2 separate regions of the Homo sapiens genome follow, and region 2 is linked to region 1. The links are contacts of gene promoters, found by promoter capture Hi-C in human tissues and cell types (Jung and others, 2019). All regions are on one chromosome and are shown on one strand. Each heading gives the region's core, a stretch centred on a gene start or on the middle of the fragment in contact. The rest is flanking DNA. Distances are from core to core; before and after follow the strand shown.

Region 1 (6,880 bases), core at 3,652-6,151:
ACTAAGAAATATCCCCACTTACGTTTGGAGGGTGTTCATGTGGTTTCATGTGTTGTTACCTGTATGTATAATTTTAATGATTCAAGTTATTTAGATCCATATGCAGGAAACAGAACCCAGACAAGGCAGTGATAACACTGGCCACATTCACACTCTCTTAGGCTGGTTCTTTGAGCGGTGTGATCAAACGTGAAAGCTCAGTGTTCTGTAGAGGCAGGCTGGTGCTGGGAGGCACCCACTACTTCAGCATGAGAATGCTGGTTCTTCGTTCGGGATAGAGCAGGTTAGTGATACAGGATGGGGGCAGGAAAGTCCTGGGTGGAGAAGAACGGGGTCCCTGGCTAGGGCTCGACCCCTGGGCCTGTGCCCATGGACCTACGCATTTCTGCTTTTGTGCCCAAATGTTGCATTTCCCAAGACCACCGTGGCCTGCCACACTCCCATCCTATGCCTATAAAAACCCCAAGACCCTAGCGGGCAGAGACCAAGCGGCTGGATGTCGAGAAGAACACACCGGCAGAAGAGCACACCAGCAGACACAGCAGACGCCAGCAGGCCATCGACTGGCGGAATGACACGGAGTTTGCTTGGGGTGGTCAGGGGAGAGCCCGGTCACTGGGCAGCCCAACTCCCAAGGGGAAAACTGCCTTCCCACTCCATCTCCCTTCTGGCTCCCCCATCTGCTGACAGGTATCACCACTCAATAAAAAACCTTGCACCCATCCTCCAAGCCCATGTGTGATCTGATTTTTCAGGTACACCAAGGCAAGAACCCAGGATACAGAAAGCCCTCTGTCCTTGTGATAAGGCAGAGGGTCTAATTGAGCTGATAAACACAAGCTGCCTACGGAGGGGTAAACTGAAAGAGCTCCCGCACTGTAACACACACCCTCTGGGGCTTCAGCTGGAAACATTCACCCCCAGACACTGCCGTGGGGTCAGAGCCCCATAGCCTGCCGGTCTGTACACTCCCCTAGAGGTTTGAGCAGTGGGGAACCAAAGAAGCGAGCCACACCCCCATCGCACACCCTGCGAGGGGGACAAGGGAACTTTTCCCGTTTCAACAGGTCTCTATTGCATTCTACACAGCTGTCCTAGAGGATGAACAGAAGGACACCAGGCTACTGAGCTGGCTCTGGAGTCACCCTGGGTTCAAATCCCAGCTCTACGTTCTCCAGCCCGTGGCCACGATGGGGTTAGTAATAGGATCCATTTCATAGGGTCGTCATAGAGAGTAAGACCGTAAAGCTCCGTACCTAGCCCATGTAAAGTCCACAGTAAGGGTTTGCTGCTGTTGTCCTGAGACATCATGAGATGTCTTAGAATTCTGGACTTGAGACACACGGCCTGGGGGCGGCAATGCTTCTGTCTGCTGGAGTGCCAGGTGAGAGGCCTGATGTATCCAGTTCTTATTAATCATTACTTACGGGAAATGGAGTTGATGGAAAGATAGCAACCCCTCCCACCACCCGGAGCGTGAGTGATACCGCGTCATTCAGCAATAAAGCCCACATCTTTATGGGGACGCTATTTTTACATAACGCAAACGGTACAAAAACATAAATGCGCTTTTGGTACCAGAGTGTGCGATTCTTGCCCCGCGTGTGGGGACGCTGCAGATTTCTTCCTGGCTTTCCACCGCTGCAGCTGCAGAGCTCTCAGCTTTTCTCGGAGCTCCATGTTCTGCTCCCTCAAAGCATCTATATGACTCCGGAGTTTTCCATGAACATCAGCCCACAGAGACTTCTGTCTCCCAAGCTCTTGGTGGAGTCTGATGATCTGCTGCTGTAATGGCTGTTATTGGGAAGAGAACACCAGAAAAACCTCTCAGATGTCACAATGGGCACATTTATCTGCAAAATACTCAAGCCCTCTCTGATGTAAGACCAACACTATTTCTGGAATAAAAGACACCCGATGAGATAAACAGGACTACCACAGCCTTTTTCTTTCTTCTTTCTTTCCTTTCTTTCTTTCTTTTCTTTTCTTTTTTCAGGGTCTCACTCAGTCACTCAGGCTGGAGTGCAGTGGCATGATCTCAGCTCACTGAAGCTTCAACTTGATGAGCTCAAGCGATCCTCCTGTCTCGACCTCCCAAATAGCTGGGACTACAGGCATGTGCCACCATACTTCGCTAATTTTTGTATTTTTACTCGGGATGGGGGTTCACCATGTTGCCCAGACTGGTCTCAAACTCCTGGGCTCAAGCAATCCACCTGCCTCGGCCTCCCAAAGTGCTGGGATTACAGGAATAAGCTACCATGCCTGGCCATAGCTTTATTCTTATTAAGTAGTGTTTATTATGAGTTAGTCCACATAATATAACCAGATAAAGATGGTTAGTGAATTATGATTTTTTTGTTAAAACACTACTACAGCAAAAAGAGGCTGGCATTCTTTTCCTTTTTTTTTTTTTTTTTTTTTTTTTTTTGAGACAGTGTCTTTCTCTGTCACCCAGGCTGGAGTGCAGTGGCGCAGTCTCAGCTCACTGCAACCTCCACTTCCCAGATTCAAGCAACTCTGGTGCCTCAGCATCCAGAGTAGTTGGGATTACAGGCACATGCCACCACACCTGGCTAATTTTTCTATTGTTAGTAGAGACAGGGTTTTACCATGTTGGCCAGACTGGTCTCAAAGGCTGTACTGGCATGGATATATGGTCAATAGTTTAAAAATTATGGAAGCCGGCCGGGCGCGGTGGCTCACGCCTGTAATCCCAGCACTTTGGGAGGCCGAGGCGGGCGGATCACGAGGTCAGGAGATCGAGACCATCCCGGCTAACACGGTGAAACCCCGTCTCTACTAAAAATACAAAAAATTAGCCGGGCGTAGTGGCGGGCGCCTGTAGTCCCAGCTACGTGGGAGGCTGAGGCAGGAGAATGGCGTGAACCCGGGAGGCGGAGCTTGCAGTGAGCCGAGATCCCGCCACTGCACTCCAGCCTGGGCGACAGAGCGAGACTCCGTCTCAAAAAAAAAAAAAAAAAAAAAAAAAAATTATGGAAGCCACTGCATTTTCAACCTAACATGTTAGCCTTCCCCTGGGATCCTTCACTGGATCGTAGAGCCTCCAGCCTTGCTCTGAGAATAAGTGGGATCGTGATAAAGGTACAGTCCTGCACTGGGTGGCCCTGGCCACAGGGACCCGTGGGACTTTAATGACAGCAAGCACTGTCCAACAGGGTCCAATGAGGAAGATGGTAAAAATCAGGAAACTTGCTGGGATGATGTGAGGCATGTCAACTTTCTGATTTTCTTTAATGAAGTTTTTAAAGTCTGGTGCCTTCTCCTGGATTAGAGGAGAAAAGCTGGAATGTTAATATTTTCTTTAACTCCCTGCCCTGCCTCCCATCCACCAAGAGATACGGTTGCAGAGGGGGAAAGAGCCACATGCCCCTTGGAGAGGAAGTACAGAATCAGTGTCCCGGGGTGGTGCATTCCTACAGGGGTCCAGCAAGGGAAAGTCCAATGACGGGCCTCAGGGACAGGAATCAGGGTCCCGCCTGGTGGGACTAACTCTGTCCCCACAGAGCTCAACTCACTGGCATCTCCCCAGTGTTGCAGTCCTCCGTGAGAACCTCGGCTGCCACAGCTGTCTTCTCCATGACAGCCCCAGCTCCTGGGCACGGGTCCTCTGGGTGGGTGCCCTCTTTGGGGTCCCTGGCCTCGAGTTGACCTGCCAGCATCCTGGTTGGGAAGGGAAGGGCTATGGGGACACTTGAATGCAGCCCTCCTACCCCGTCAGTGTGGGCTGAAGGCCCCAGCCCCAAACTAAGGGTGAGCAGGACCCGCAGCCGCTCCTTCTCCCCCTGGGTCATGTGCACATTCCCAGGCCCGAAGCTGACCAGGTGAAAGGACACCACAGACAGAGGGACTGAGCTGTCCACACCTGGCTCTCCACCATCCTCCGTGGAAAATGCTTTAGATCCTAGAAGATCAGCCTGACACCTAACACACTCCAGTCATCCAAAGAGGGGTGTGAGTGGGGTGTGAGCCGGTGTGAGTGGGATGTGAGTGGGTTGTGAGCAGGATATGAGCGGAATGTGAATGGATGTGAGCGGATGTGAGCACGATGGTCTTGGGGTATGAGCAGGTGTGAGTGGAATGGTCTCAGGGTGTGAGCAGGTGTGAGTGGAGGGTCGCATGAGACACCGAGGGAATTCTCAGCCCTTTAATCAGCACCCACCTGGAGGGGCACAGGCAGACCCTCCACCGTGTTGAGTATGTGTCTTGAACCATCAGGGTGACATTTGTGAATTCATGGTGAAGATGTGGAAAGGAAACACCTTTTTATAGGTACAGCATTTATGCCAGTTCTAGGAAGTTCACAGCAATTAGAGAACAAAAACGAAAGAGAAAAACGCAAAGCTTTCCTGCAAGCCTGCAGGGTCGTCTCTGAAAGCTGCCTCCACCCCTGCCTTGCCCTGTCCGTTTTAGGAAGCCAGTGGCCCCCAACGAAACCCCGACTGTTTAATTCATAAACTTCTAACTGTGTGAGAAGGAACAGTTTAACCACAGTGATCGGAGAAATGCTATTTAAAAGAGAGTCTCCTGATGGAAGCGAATCGAAGGTCTAGAGCAAGACCTACCAGTAACCAGATCACTGCCATTCCTTCCCCGCGGAGACTGGGAATGTTTCTGCGGAAGTGGGCTGGGGTCACGGTCCTCACAGCCCTGAGAAAGCTCCTTCTTTCCTGCTCCTCTGAGGGGACACCCCAGTGTCCTCGGCCCCAAACTCATGACCCCCTCAGTCCAGGGAAGACCCTTTCCTTCAGCCCCACCACCAGACCTCGTCACCTCACCTGGTCCCCAACAGTCACTACTGCCAGGATCAGATCATCTGGGCCATGTCCCCACAGTTGTCCCCAAGCCCTCCTGCCTCATATCCAGAGACCAGAGAGCAGCGGACAGTTCCAACGGACTTTCTGTCTTAAAGGGACATGAACGTCTCACTCAGCGTCACCACTGTACCAGCTCAGATAATAATTAAACATCCCCAAACCTGCAATTCTTAATATAGAAGCTCATCGTCAGTGGAGTCCATCCATCCACAAAGGACATTGGAGAGAGTCAAACTACTCCTCCAAATTGACAAAAACCATGTGTTTTATATCCAGTCTTCAATACGCAACGTGTAGTAAGAGCTCATTTCTCTGAGCATACATTCTTGGAGAAATACAAACTTTCTTCGGATATCAAATTATTTACTAGAAAAAACATTTTTATGAAGGGAAAATAATATATGTGAGTTTAAATAGGAGACAGGATTCAAAGTTTCATCATTTCACTAAATGCATCTCCATCTGAATTGTCCGTGTGATTTTTGTGATAGAGAAGAGAATGAGGAGCAAGCAAGAGTCGATATTCCTGTTAAACCCTGGCTGTCCTTCTCATCCATGGTGCTGCGTGTGGACAACATACACCTGGGGCTCACCTGAGCCTGCTTGGGACGTGTGTCACTTGGATAGTTCTGCAAGCGATTCGCATGCAATAGGCAGTAAATGCCGACGTCATGAATGAATGAAGAGAATACTACAAAGAGGAAACAGAAGGCACTTTTGTCCCCATGTGTCATTCTAACTGTGAGAGTGTGTGTGTGTGTCCTGAGGTGTGCGAGTGTGTGTGTGTGTGTCCTGAGGTGCGTGAGAGGTTGTATGTTTGTCCTGAAGTGTGTGAGAGTTTATATAGGTTTCTGAGGTATGTGAGGGGTTGTGTGTGTCCCTGAGGTGTATGAGGTGTGTGTGGGTCCTGAGGTGTGTGAGTGGTTGTGTGTGGGTCCCTGAGGTGTGTGAGAGGTTGTGTGTGGGTCCTAAGGTGTGTGAGTGGTTGTGTGTGGGTCCTAAGGTGTGTGAGAGGTTGTGTGTGGGTCCTAAGGTGTGTGAGTGGTTGTGTGTGGGTCCTAAGGTGTGTGAGAGGTTGTGTGAGTCCTGAGGTGTGTGAGAGGATTGTGTGTGAGTCCTGAGGTGTGTGAGGGGTTATGTATGGGCCCCTGAGGTGTGTGAGGGGTTTTATGTGTGTCCTGAGAAGTGTGATGAATTGTGTGGGTCCTGAGGTGTGTGAGGGTTTGTGTATGAGACCCTGAGGTGTGTCAACATTGTGTGTGAGACCCTGAGGTGTGTGAGGGGTTGTGTGTGGATTCCTGAGGTGTGTGAGGGCTTGTGTGTATGAGCCTGAGGTGTGTGGGTTCCTTATATGGGTTCCTGAGGTGTGTGAGGGGTTGTGTGTGTGTCCTGAGGTGTGTGAGGGGTTGTGCTTGGGTCCTGGGGTGTGTGAGTGGGTGTTTGTCCTGAGGTGTGTGAGAGGTTGTGTGTGTGTCCTGAGGTGTGTGAGAGTTTGCGTAGGTTCCTGAGGTATGTGAGGGGTTGTGTGTGTCCTGAGGTGTGTGAGAGGTTGTGTGAGTCCCTGGGGTGTGTGAGAGTTTGTGTAGGTTTCTGAGGTGTGTGAGAGTTTGTGTAGCTTCCTGAGGTGTGTGAGAGGTTGTGTGAGTCCCTGAGGTGCGTGAGGGGTTGTGTGTGTCCTGAAGTGTGTGAGAGGTTGTGTAGGTTTCAGGCTTTGCAGCTCCCCTCCTGAGCCTCAGCCGGGCGGCTCCCAGGGCAGGGTCCCCCCATCCCTGTCTCTGCTGCGGCTCTCTGTGTGTTGCTCTTCCCGGCCTGGCCAGGACATTTTCTTCATTGAGTCTTCCCCAGATTCTCACCCTGCAGCAACCACGTGCGGCAGCAGGTCAGGGCGGAGGCTCCTGGGCGTTTGGACTGTGGGGCCCTTCTCTTCTCTCTGATAAGGCCCCGGTTTTCTGTTCAGCCTCGCGGTGCCTTAGCCGCATTTCAGGCATGGTCTTCCAGGGCCCTCTGGTCTGAACATTCTGTAGAGGAAACCACGGCACACC
Region 2 (6,564 bases), core at 3,309-5,808, 37 kb before region 1:
TAGTATGGGTAACGGCGCCAGGCACAATACATGCGTTATCTCATTTCCTCATCACAAGCTTCCTTTGAGATATACCCATTTTATAGACTTAGATTAAGATGCTTGTCAGAGGTCAGGGTACAAGCAGCTGTCTGACTCCAAACCCTTTATGGAGGCTGCCTGGCTTTTTCTCTAGCTCTTCACTTCTTAATTAGTGCAGAGAATCAAGTCTTGCCTTTCATTTCTTCCCCTGCACTGAAGAAAAATCTAAAAGTCATCCTTTTGTAACATTGAAAACTTGGAATAAAAAATTCATTAAAATATTATCTATAGAAACACTCCCAAAGCCTCATAGCAAGAAATTCAGATAAAAGCACATATTTTCACTACTTTAATGTGCATGAGTTTAAAGTCCATGACTGTTATTTTTATCTTCATCATTCCCTATTTGACTGATTTTTAACCTATCATGTTACACCATGGAGTGGCAAATACTATCAAGGAATCAAAAAAAGCAACTCCTTCAATAATCTAATTTATAGGAAATAGAGTAAATTACAATGATGCCTCTTTAATCTAATTAATTAGCTAATTGATTAATTTAATTAGTTAATTAACTAATGTCCCTGATGGGCAAAGTTTTCTTAACCAGAGAGCTTCCTGGCCCACACAAGAAAGGAAAAATTAATGATCCATCAGCTGTTTCTGAACTTCAGGATAGTTGGAGGCCCAGCTTCAGGGATCACGTCTTCTGTGAGGTCACAAAGGAAATTACGCCTTCAAGAATGCACTGTTCAAGCCATATCCTTGACTCCGATGAATCAATCAGGAAAGGGCTATTGTTATAAATAAGCAAATGAGACTGGTCATCAAGCAACTGGTCCTCAAGGTTTGACTTCTTTTCTTCTCCACCACTGAACAGATTTACTTTTTTTTTTTTTTTTTTGAGATGGAGACTCTCTGTCGCCCAGGCTGGGGTGCAGTGGTGCTACCTCGGCTCACTGCAACCGCTGTCTCCTGGGTTTTTAGGCAATTCTCCTGCCTCAGCCTCCCGAGTAGTTGGGATTACAGGCACCCACCACCATGCCTGGCTAATTTTTGTATTTTTAGTAGAAACAGAGTTTCACCATGTTGGCCTGGCTGGTCTCAAACTCCTGACCTCAAGTGATCCACCCGCCTTGGCCTCCTGGAGTGCTGGGATTACAGGCATGAGCCACCATGCCTGGCCTAAATTTACTTTTAATCTCATGAGATGCTGAGGACTAAGACCCCCTCCTTCCCAGGGCCCAAAGCAAGAAAATGGGATGGAGAGGCCCATCTCCAAAGATCTTACCCTTGGAATAAGGGTCTTTTTCCCACACCTCCTTGACATCTATTCCCCCTGGGCTGTTTTTATTTTCCTAACCCACACTCCATCAGCTTTAAGCACTAAAGAACTTTTTGGCCACCTCAGGACAAAAATTTGTTACAAAAATCACCTCCTAAATCAAATGAGCTGAGCCTCACTAAGTAAATCAGGCTTTGGACAGGCTCCGCTTCCTGTTGGTTGTTCATACATTTGTGTTGCTCAAGTCTTCATCTTAGAACCCAACCCCGCCTTGCTGGATTCCTGATGGAATTTCTCTTTGCACCTGAACAATTCTTCAGGCATCTTCTCCTTTTAATTTTGAAGAATGTGATACCTTTCTGTCAGAAAAGGTATCCAGGTCTTAGATTCACACTCAAGCCATGAATAATACTCTTCTGGGCATACATAAATACACGATTTTCCCAAATTCTCCTTCTCCTAGCACAGAGACCAAAGCCTTCTTCCTTCCCTTTCCCTAGCCTTCTTTCAAATTCTCACCTTTCCTGGCATTTGTTTACTTGCTCAACCTTCTAACAAACATTTATTTAACAAACATCTGCTATGATCCAGGCACTGAACTAAGTGACACAAAGGTGAGTAAGACACAGTCCTTGCCGTAAGAAGTTCATGCTCTTATGAAGCAGACCAGTTATCAGACCATTACAGTGCATGGTGGAAGGGCAGAGATAGCGTTAAGCCCAGGACATTATAGGGCCCCTCAAAAAGAGCCAAGTCACCCCACTGGGGACCCTGTCTGTTTCCCCTCACTCTTCAGGTTCTAGGTGTTTTCAGAGTTGTGTTTCTTTAAAGTGTTTAAATAGTTTCCTTTCTAGCAACCTCCCCCATGGATAACGACGTAGACCTTCCCAACTCCCAATCTGAATCATTGTATTACTTCCAGGCCAGCGACTCATATATTCCTAGACTCATCAACTTCTCATCATCCGTACTACCACAAACATCAGAATATCTAAAACCCCTAGAGTCCAATCCACTCCAGTCCATGTTTGAGTTTTCCAAATCCACATGTCATTTGAAGGTGAATTTTCCATGCATTGTGTTTTGAAATCAACAGACATATACTTAATCCTTTTGCCTCAGTTTCTGATCATCATAAAGACAGGAAAAACAGAAATCCTCAGTTCATTTTAATTCTCTTAGTCCTCAACGTGATATTCGTTCACATCCTTCATGACTGGCCTCTCTTTTACCTATCTGGTTTTGAATTACATTGGCTAACTTCAGAAAAGTCATCGTTACTAAATTGTCTCTGAAAGAAAGTAATTGAGGCAGAAGATATATGCAGTTCTTCAGCAATTGTTTGAGCTGCACTGTCAGTGTAGAAATAAGCAGCCTAATAAGAGGTCAGATACGTGGATTTTAAAAGCCTATTTATCATACAGTATTCAAACCCTTTAATCATTTTATAAGCCTCACATTAAATGTCAGTTGTCATTCTTTTTCCCATCATGATTACTTAACAAACCAAAATACCATTATGTTGTTCCTTTTCTAGAAAAAAAAAATGCTTCAACGTGAAAGAAATAAAGCTACAGAGAGACAGGGCTGGCGCAGGGGATCTGGACCTAGAGAACCAGCTTCAAATTCTGCTCCACAACCTATTTATTGTGTGATTTGAAGCCAATTATTTAAGTTCTTTGAGCTTCAGTCCCTTGATCTATTCAAGGAAGATAATAATAATCTCTGCCTTACAGTGTTTTCAAGGGTGAGTCCACACCCATCCTTGAGTGAATCATCACCTTGGTGGGCTCCATGGCACCCTCCTCCCCCACCCCACCCCCGGCCGGCCCTCCTTTCTGAAGCAGCCTCTCCCACCCTGAGGTGCCCCACCCTCCAAGTTTCCTGCTGCTCTGGGCACTCCTACATCTCTGCACCATGGCCCACACACACCGGAGTCCTGGCATCTCAGTCCTAGTCTTCATTCTTATTTAGTAGCCTCTCTTTAAGATGGTTCATCCACACTGGCAGCTTCCATTTTCAGATGCCTCCAATCTTTCATTTGAATATCAGACCTTTATAGGCAACTATTCACACCATACCTTCTTTTGGGGGGTATCTCCCACTCAACAGGTCTAAATGAAGTTTGAGTCCTCTCCTAAATCTAGCGGGCTTCCCATGTTCTTATTCTCAGCTAGTGGCACTGCCACTCATCCAGCTGTGCGAGCCAGACACCCAAAGAGTCATCCCAGACCCCTCACCTGCTCCCCAACCCCAGCCATCACAAGCCCTGTCCATTCTCCCTCCTAAAGAGCTCAGAAATATGCCTTCAGAACTACGTCTTCATTGGACCACCCCGGTCTGAGGTACAACCCACCTATTTCCTAAACCATCCCATCGTACTCACTGCCGTGCCCCAGCAGAGCGCCCTTCTCAATGCACAGATGTTGTGGTGTCATTTCCCTACTTCTGTCCTCTCACAGCTCTGCATTGCTCTTTGGGTCAAAAATAAAATCTTTTTTTTAAATTTATATAAATATATGGGGTTCAAGAACAATTTCGTTACATGCATAGATTGCATAATGGTTAAGTCGGGGTTTTTACATATTCATTATCCAAATAATGTATATTGCACCCATTAAGTAGTTTCTCATCCTCCACCCCCTCCCGCTCCCTCATCCTTCCAAATCTCCATTGTCTATTATTCCAATCTCTATGGCCATTTGTACACATTTTTTCACTTCCACTTACAAGTGGGAAATATGCAATATTTGTCTTTCTGTATCTGGGTTGATTTGCTCAAGGTAATGGCCTTCAGTTCCATCCATGTTGCTGCAAAAGACATGATTTCATTCCTTTTTATGGCTAAATAGTATTTCATTGTGTTTATATGCCACATTTTCTTCATTCAATTTAGGATATTTAGGTTGATTCCATATCTTTGCTATTGTGAATGGTGCTGCAATAAACATAAAAGTACAGGTATCTTTTTGATATATTGATTTCTTTTCCTATGGGTAGATGCCCAGTAGTGGAGTGGCTGAATCAAATGGTATATCTATTTTTGGCTCTTTGAGAAATCTCCATACTGTTTTGCACAGAGGTTGTACTAATTTACATGCCCACCAGCACTGTTTAAGAGTTCACTTTCTCCATATCCTCACCAACATCTGTTAGTTTTTGTCTTTTTAATAATAGCCATTCTAACATTTGTTTTCTTAGTATTGAGTTGTTTCATTTCCCTATATATTTTTGGATATTATCCCCTTATCATATGCATGGTTTGCAAATATTTTCTCCCATTTTGCAGGTTGTCTCTTCACTCTGTTGATTATTTCTTTTGCTGTGTAGAAGCTTTTTAGTTTAAGTCCCATGCATCTGTTTTTGTTTTTGTTTTTGTTTTTCGATTGGGGGGATGGAGTTTCGCTCTTGTTGCCAGGCTAGAGTGCAATGGCACGATCTTGGCTCACTTCAACCTCTGCCTCCTGGGTTCAAGAGAGTCTCCTGCCTCAGCCTCCTGGGTAGCTGGGATTACAGGCGCGCATCCCCACGTCCAGCTAATTTCTTTGTATTTTTAGTAAAGACGAGGTTTCACCATGTTGGCCAGGCTGGTCTTGAACTCCTGACCTCAGGTGATCCACCTGCCTCGGTCTCCCACAGTGCTGAGATTATAGGCGTGAGCCTGTTTTTGTTTTAAAATCCTTAAGGAGATGTACACGACCCCACAGGACCTGACCCTGGCTCCCGGCCAGCCTCACCTCCCATGGCTTTCCTGCCCCTGTATTACCTCACTTCCTTCCCCTTTAGCCATCCTTCGGGCCTCAGTTCAAGTTCACATCTTCAGGATGGTAGTCTACGACCCCTTATACCAGTTGAGACCATCTTTTAGGCATTCCTACCTCACCACTTGATTTTCTTTCAGGGTATTTAGTACATTTGCTGTTGTAAGATAACGTGGGCCTTTTCATCAATGGCAGTCTCCCGTGCTAGAATACATAATCCAGTACTGCAGGACATAGCTATATATTGCTTATCCATGAATTCCCAGTGGCAAAGCCCCAGTAGAATTTCAATACATATATATTTATTAAAAAGTGATTTATTAATTACTTTTTAAATTAATTAATATTGAGGTGCACCAGCAACATAGTTAAAACTCCTCATTCCCCAAACTACTCAGATCCATTTCTGGCTCTGCCACATACTGGTTTTGTGACTTTGGGGAAGTTATCTTATCGTTATCCCTGACACTTCCTCTCCAAAATTGAGTAGCTTGCATAGGAAAGTCAAGAAGACAAAAGTTAGCCTCCCAGCAACTAGCTAAACAAAACCCACTTTTCAGTCAAAACCAAGAATACCTATTTAATGATAATAATAAAAAAGAAGAAACCATGCTCCTAGTACACATTAATTCATCAAAGGATAATAAAGAAGAAAAAGAGGAGTCACAGCCACTTGTGCTCTGCTAATAAGTAACAGTCTTGCCAAGACCTTAGGAGGACAACATCAGCCAGCACCCATTTTCAATACAGGTGACTCGGTGGACCTTTGTTTCCCATCAAGTCCCTTTCCTCTAGCACCCAAGCACCCCTGCAGCCCACCCCTGACACAGCCTGGTAGCAGGTGCTTCTCCTGCAAGGGAAACAGCCAGGCCCTGTGCCCCATATGCAATGAACAAGGCAGGGCTCTGCCCCTCTCCTGCAAGCAATCAACACAGGCCCTGAAGCATGAGATTTAATTGCTTGTTCATTATTTTAGCTTGCAGGGGCTACAAGGAAGTATGGCATTTCTGAGCACACCATCCGAGGGAACCCTGGGAGCTGTCAGATTAAAAAATAACAACAGAAACGAGAAAGGAGCCTCTCTTTAGCCAAATGGCTTCAGGTGCCCGTGACTCAATGCAAGGGCCCCCATCAAAACCCATGGCAGCCCCTCTCTGTTTGTCCTGCCCTTTTCAATTCTGTCTGAGTGGGGAGGAGAATGCCACAAAGAGACGAGAATTTGAACTCGCAGCCCCTGAGTGCACCAATGCCCTTTTTCTGCCTGATTGTATACTTGAAGTGCCTGTAAAGTCAATAACTTCCCATGGTTTCACAGCAAAGTCAAAAGGTTAAAAAAGAGACATTGTCCTTTTGAAGATGTGGAAAGTAATGAGTGAGCAGGCTGAATCCTCTGTGGGTTTAAAAGCCTGTGCCATTCTGCTTTAAGGTGTCAAAATTGCCTTAAATTTTTAGCTTTGTTATACCCTGCTGCTACACAGATATCATAGAACCAGGCTG

Evidence for each region. The method cuts DNA at HindIII sites, captures the fragments that hold promoters and counts their contacts. A contact is called where the count stands out against the background at its distance.
Region 2: a contact is called between a fragment that was not itself captured here and the fragment with the promoter of TCP10L in region 1, in 1 of the 25 tissues and cell types used here (aorta).

What each region holds. Positions count from the first base shown.
Region 1 is chr21:32,580,622-32,587,501 of GRCh38, forward strand. TCP10L (t-complex 10 like) reads right to left here and starts at 4,902. Exons shown (of 5, transcript NM_144659.7): 1 at 4,800-4,902; 2 at 3,540-3,684; 3 at 1,579-1,794. The coding sequence starts at 3,683. CFAP298-TCP10L (CFAP298-TCP10L readthrough) reads right to left here. Exons shown (of 12, transcript NR_146639.2): 6 at 1,579-1,794. RefSeq lists an enhancer at 3,159-3,659 and a silencer at 4,741-4,940. The HindIII fragment of the contact is 17,408 bases long and covers 3,209-6,880 here.
Region 2 is chr21:32,544,126-32,550,689 of GRCh38, forward strand. No RefSeq gene overlaps it. Among named protein-coding and RNA genes, the nearest start is that of TCP10L, 38 kb to the right of the region's middle. The HindIII fragment of the contact is 4,421 bases long and covers 2,349-6,564 here.